Regions from separate parts of the Homo sapiens genome. Here region 1 is linked to region 2. The links are contacts of gene promoters, found by promoter capture Hi-C in blood cells and fetal thymus (Javierre and others, 2016). All regions are on one chromosome and are shown on one strand. The core of a region is centred on a gene start or on the middle of the fragment in contact, and the rest is flanking DNA. Distances in the headings are between cores, read along the strand shown. Region 1 overlaps LINC02811 (long intergenic non-protein coding RNA 2811). Region 2 holds the start of NT5C1A (5'-nucleotidase, cytosolic IA).

Region 1 (2,912 bases), core at 91-2,590, 130 kb after region 2:
TTTTGTATTTTTATTACAGACGGGGTTTCACTGCATTAGCCAGGATGCTCTCGATCTCCTGACCTCATGATCCGCCCGCCTCGGCCTCCCAAAGTGCTGGGATTACAGGCATGAGCAACCGTGCCCAGCCTGACTCTGTTTCAAGAAACAAAACAAAACAAACCCTCCAAACTCTAGGTGAACCTAACTATGCCTCTCCTTTATGCTTACAGCCAGGCCAGGAAGCATTTTTTAAGAACTACTGGGGGTGTAAGTAACACTATAAATTCAGTCACCAACCTCAATGCCGTTAGACAATTCCAGTGCATTTTGATGTTTAGTTGCACTGTCCTCAGACTTCAAGCTTCCCTTCTAGCTCCTCGCTCTCAGCAGATCACCTAATGTTATAGCTGCCTAATCCTCCTTTCCTTCTCACTGCTGAAAGATGTTCCTTCTGTGCTCAGAATTCCATCCCTCCAGGCTTCTCTGGAACTTTGCACTATTCATTGGCAGGAGATGAGACTGTGTGGGGGGAGAGGAGTTAGGAGATGGTTGCAGGGGTACTTGTTTTCAAATGCAAATAAGGTTATACTTCTCCCCAACAAGCAATCCTTTGATACCTTTCCATTGCTCTGAAGATTTTTTTTTTTTTTAAATGGGGTCTTGCTCTGTTGCCTGGAGTGCAACAGAGTGCTAGAGTGCGGTGGTGCAATCTTGGGTCACTGCAACCTCTGCCTCCCGGGTTTAAGCAATTCTTCTGCCGCACCCTCCTGAGTTGCTGAGACTACAGGCACACGTCACCACACCCAGTTAATTTTTGTATTTTTAGGAGAGACCGGGTTTCACCATGTTGGCCAGGCTGGCCTCGAACTCTTAACCTCAAGTGATCTGCCTGCTTTTGGCTCCCAAAGTGCTGGGATTACAGGCCTGAGTCACCACGCCCAGCTTGAGGTGGGGGTTCTACTCCAGATGGGTTGCTCAGGGAAGGTCCTCTGAGGAGGTGGCATCACCTGAGTCCTGAATCACAGGCATGCACCAGCACACTCAGCTAATTTTTAAACTTTTTGTAGATATGAGGTCTCACTCTATTGCCCAGTCTGGTCTCAAACCCTAGGCTCAAGCGATCCTCCTGCCTCAGCCTCCCAAAGTGCTGGGATTATAGGTGTGAGTCATTGTGCCTGGCCAAGATGATTAATTTGAATGTCATATTTAATTAATTTGCTTAATTGTAGTAATCTTTTTTTACCTGAACCCATAGAATTTTGCAGGCACCATCTGGCCAAGTTTCAGGAGTCAATAATACCTTGGAAAAATTTAAAAGTTCATTATATGGTTTACTTTTGTTATCAAATAACTACATTTTTTGTAAAATTTATTAGACAATCCAATAATTTTTCTTCCAGATTTAATACTACTCTAGTGTTCTCTGTTTTCTCCTCCAGATCCATTATTTATTCTTCTCCATCTTGTTCTGTGTTCCTGGAAGCCAACCTTTATAAGCTGCAGGAAATGGATTTCCTACTCTCCACCTTCTGATTGGGCTTGACCAACGGGGAGCACTGGCAGAAGACAAGCATGGGAGGAAAAAGAGATCAGGGTATTCATTTCCCCAGATCCCTCCCTGTCCTCTACTTAAAGGTCATAAGTCCATCCAGGTGTCATCTCTTATGTAGGATTCTAGCGACATCTTCTCCCCTTGTTCCTTTAGGCTTAGGAGTAATAACACTTTTCTGTTCTTGCTAGTCCTGAGGATAAGTGTTTTGTCACCTCTTGTTGATTTCCCTGACTTCAAATACCAAACACTATTTTTTTGCTATTTTTGAACTTTATGTAAGTAGAATCATACAGTATATATTTTGGGGGGTAAGGTTTTTTTTGTTTTGTTTTACTCAATAATAGGTTTGTGAGCATCATCCATGCTATTGCATAAAACAGTAGTTTGTTTTCATTGCTGCATAGTATTTTTCACTTATACATTGTACTATTAATAAATATTTGAGGGTTTTTTTTCCCAAAAGTGCATATGTGTCTCTTGGCTGTACACCTAAGAATAAAACTTTGGGTGACAGGATATGTATACCTTCAACTTTAGTAAACAATACCAAACTGATTTCTAAATGCTAGTACGCATTTACAATTCTACCTGAAATGTATGAGTTACCATCATCTGTAGGATCTATAGTGATTTCTCCCTTTTCATTTCTGACATTTCTTTTTTTGTGTCCCTTTTTCCCTCTTTCCTTTCCTTTTCTTTCTTTCCTTCCTTCCTTTCTTCTTTCTTTTTTATTGAGAGTCTTGCTCTGTCACCCAAGCTAGAGCGCAGTGGTGTGGTCATGACTCACCACAGCCTCGACTTCCCAAGCTTAAGCAATCCTCCCACCTCAGCCTCCTGGGCAGCTGGGACTACAGGCATGTGCCACCACACCTGGCTAATTTTTTGACCCATTATTGAGAAGTATGTTAAAATTCCCATTGTGGTTTTGAATTTGTCTATTTCTTTTTTGAGTTCTGTCAGTTTTTGCTTTAAGTATTTTGAGGCTATGTTGTTGGAGAATCTAAGTTTAGAGTTATTTTATCTTTTTTTAATTTTACTTTTTTTAGAGATGATGTCTCCCTGCCTAGGCTGATTTGGTCTTATTTCTGAGCTCAAGGGATCGTCCCACCTCAGCCTCTGGAGTAGCTGGAACTACAGCACGTGCTACCATGCTTGGCTTAGAATTAGTTCATCTTTTGATGGGTTGAACTTTTTTTAATGAAGTGTTTCTATTTATTTATTTATTTATTTATTTATTTATTTATTTATTTATTTTTGAGAGGGAGTCTAGCTCTGTCGCCCAGGCTGGAGTGCAGTGGCATGATCTCAGCTCACTGCAACCTCCACCTCCCAGGTTCAAGCGATTCTTCTGCCTCAGCCTCCTGAGTAGCTGGGATTA
Region 2 (2,700 bases), core at 35-2,534:
GTGCCACTTCTACAAAGCTTTCCCCAGTGTGATGTCACTACTCTACTCCCCCCCCAACTCCCCTAGGCTCTCATCTCTGGAGCCTCCATCATTGTGCAGTGAGCTCCTGAGGCAGGGACTCAGGTTATTTAATTCTTCAATCCCCACTCTTGAGCAGAGCTTGGAGGTGCTAATTGAATGATTGCTGATAGGGTGGACCTGTTGGGGAAGGGTTCTTGGAGGGAAGCAGCAAATTGCTTTAAGATCAAGCTGGAGCTCTTTGGAGGACCGCTGTGGGCCAACCTCTATTCTCGGTTTTCTCCTCAAGCTCTGAGATCTGGGAAGTTGGAGACAGCAAGGTCCAGGGGCAGACCAGGGCATCATCAACTTGTTTGATGGCAGAGAGGAGAGAGCTCCTCTGTGAGGTCCCAGACGGTTGACACCACCACAGGGTCGTGGGGATGTTAATGCCCACTGCAAGGGGAGCAGAACCCGAGCTGGGGGGCAGAGTCCAGCGCTGGGAGCCTGCGGCCAGGGGCGCCGATCGCCCCCCAGCGCAGAGTGTGGATCCCAGTGCCTGGAGAGAGCAGCTCCCTTTCCTTAGGACGCGGGGAGCGCACTGCCCCCAGCCCAGGGCCCAGGACCCAGAGCCAGACCCCAAACGCAGAGTCTCAGGTCCGGAGCCCGATGCCCAGATGGCGGAGACCGGAGCGCACAGCCAGGAACCGGGTTCCCAAAGTCTGGTTACCCGCGCCTGGGGCGCTTCTGGAAGCGCTGCGGACCAGCTTCGCCAACAAGTGCAATCCGCGCTCCCCGGCGGCCCGAGTGGGGAGGGGCTGGGGCTGCGGGCCTCTAGCTGGGCCCTGATGACAGCATGGGGGAGGGGGAGCCTGGCGTGGAACCCGAGTCCCGGTAAAAAAATACACCAGAGCAGAGCTCCCAAAATAAACCCGAGCCCGCGCCAGCTGCAGGGCGCATTCTGGGGCTGAGGAGCTGCGTCCCCTCCCAGAGGGGCGCCACGGGTCCCTTCCCAAGAGACTTATGACCCCTCCTCCGGGGTAACCCTTCCCCCGTCCCCCGCATACCCGTGCATTGCTTTTACCGATTTGGGTTTCTTCTTGGGCGCGAGGTTGTCGTAGAAAATCTTGGCTTCCTCCCAGACCGGGGCCGCAGCGGTCTCCGCTCCTGGCCCGGGCTCGCGGGGCTCCTGGGGCTCCCGGGGCTGCCCAGGTTCCATGCTCCGGCTCTGACCCGGCCCGGCCAGAGCAGGCGGCGGCGTAGACGCGGAGGTGGCTGGGGCTGGGCTGCAGGAGGGAGGCGAGTCCCGGCGAGGGAAGGGGGCGGGCAGCGGCGAGGAGGCTGTGCGTGTGAGCTGGGCTCCCCGCCCGCCGGGCGGGGGGAGGTCACACTGGCCCTCTCGGTCGCCCGTGTGTCGCTGCCGCTGCTGCTGCTACTGCTGTACGGTATGAGGGATAGCTGGGCTCTCCTTCCCCGACCGACCCACGCCAGCAGCCGGTTGGGTGGTGAGGGGGGCTCTCTGGCTCTCTGGGTTTGTGGGCTGCAGCGGATTGGGGATTGCGAAAATGATGTTCTTCGCAGGCGCTGCAGGGCGCGGAGACAGGAGAGGCCTGACAACTTTTTTTTTCCCCCAGGATAGTGATCCCCAAAGGACAAAATGAAAAGCTAGCCGCTCCCCTCCCAAAAGCTAGCTGCCCATCTTTCCTTTAGGAGCTAGGACCCTGGGATCCTGACGATGTCCCCTTCCCTCCGAGGCCAGTCCATCCGGCAGACGGGCAGGAGGTGATGCATGGATGGCTCCTCTCACTAGCAGAAGCCTGCTCCCAGCGGGAGCTCAGTGAAGGGCCCAACCCGGCAGCTCCTCCACACCACCTAGGAGGGGCCCTTGAAGTCCATGTTGAGACCAGGCTCGGGTGGTCTCAGGTCGAGACCTTGGCCTGGGGTGGGGACCCAGGCCAGAGAGACTCCCAGGGACTCTGAACCCGAATTCTTGCTGGCCCTTTGGTGGTCAGCAGAGGGCGCGCATTCCTAGGCCCCCACCTGCCCAGCTTGGGGTGATTTGTTATAGGCCATGAAGGGGCTGGATAGAGGGAGGGCAGAAGAGGGGCCTCGGAACTACCATCCTGGAATTCCAGGGTGTTGTCCCTCTTGATGCAGAGCTCTGTACTAGTCTCAGGGTGCAGACACAAATGTCACCCATCCCAAGGTACAGGCCAGGAAGCAGACAGCCTCTCTCAGAGGTGTGCATGGGTGGGTGGGAGAAGCAGGAGAAAACACTGGCTTAGCTAGGAGGGCCTCTGACTGGGGAGGTGAGGGGGCTACAGAATGGAGTGATCCCCTCAGCCTCCACCAGGTCCTGGGAGGAATAAACCAACCCTTGTGTGGGAGGAAGGGAAAAATCATAATAAAATGTTAGGATTGGGGGAAGTGTGTTTAGACTTACTTCTAGAAGATTGTTTCCAGAGATGGCCCAAAAACCTCTTCCATCCTGCCTGTCCTTTGGAAATGTGACTTTGACATTCCTCCCATTCAGAGGTGGAGTCCAGTCTGAGCTGGCCCTGTGACTTGCTTTGACCAATTGAATGGAGTAGAAGTGGTGCTCTGTGGTTTCCAAGCTTACGTCTTAAGAGGCCTTGCAGATTCCATTTTTGCCCTCTTGGGAGCCAGCTACTATGTAAATAAGTCTGGACTATCCTGCTGGAA

What was found. The method cuts DNA at HindIII sites, captures the fragments that hold promoters and counts their contacts. A CHiCAGO score of 5 or more calls a contact.
Region 1: a contact is called between a fragment that was not itself captured here and the fragment with the promoter of NT5C1A in region 2, in 1 of 17 cell types (megakaryocytes). The highest score is 5.0, in megakaryocytes.

The regions. Positions count from the first base shown.
Region 1 is chr1:39,803,457-39,806,368 of GRCh38, forward strand. The region is part of intron 3 of LINC02811 (long intergenic non-protein coding RNA 2811); the gene reads right to left. It overlaps LOC130932201 (a long non-coding RNA gene), which reads left to right. Exons shown (of 4, transcript NR_186719.1): 2 at 1,422-1,576. Among named protein-coding and RNA genes, the nearest start is that of LINC02811, 13 kb to the right of the region's middle. The HindIII fragment of the contact is 1,998 bases long and covers 342-2,339 here.
Region 2 is chr1:39,670,823-39,673,522 of GRCh38, forward strand. NT5C1A (5'-nucleotidase, cytosolic IA) reads right to left here and starts at 1,285. Exons shown (of 6, transcript NM_032526.3): 1 at 1,082-1,285. The coding sequence starts at 1,216. RefSeq lists a silencer at 1,068-1,477. The HindIII fragment of the contact is 2,595 bases long and covers 16-2,610 here.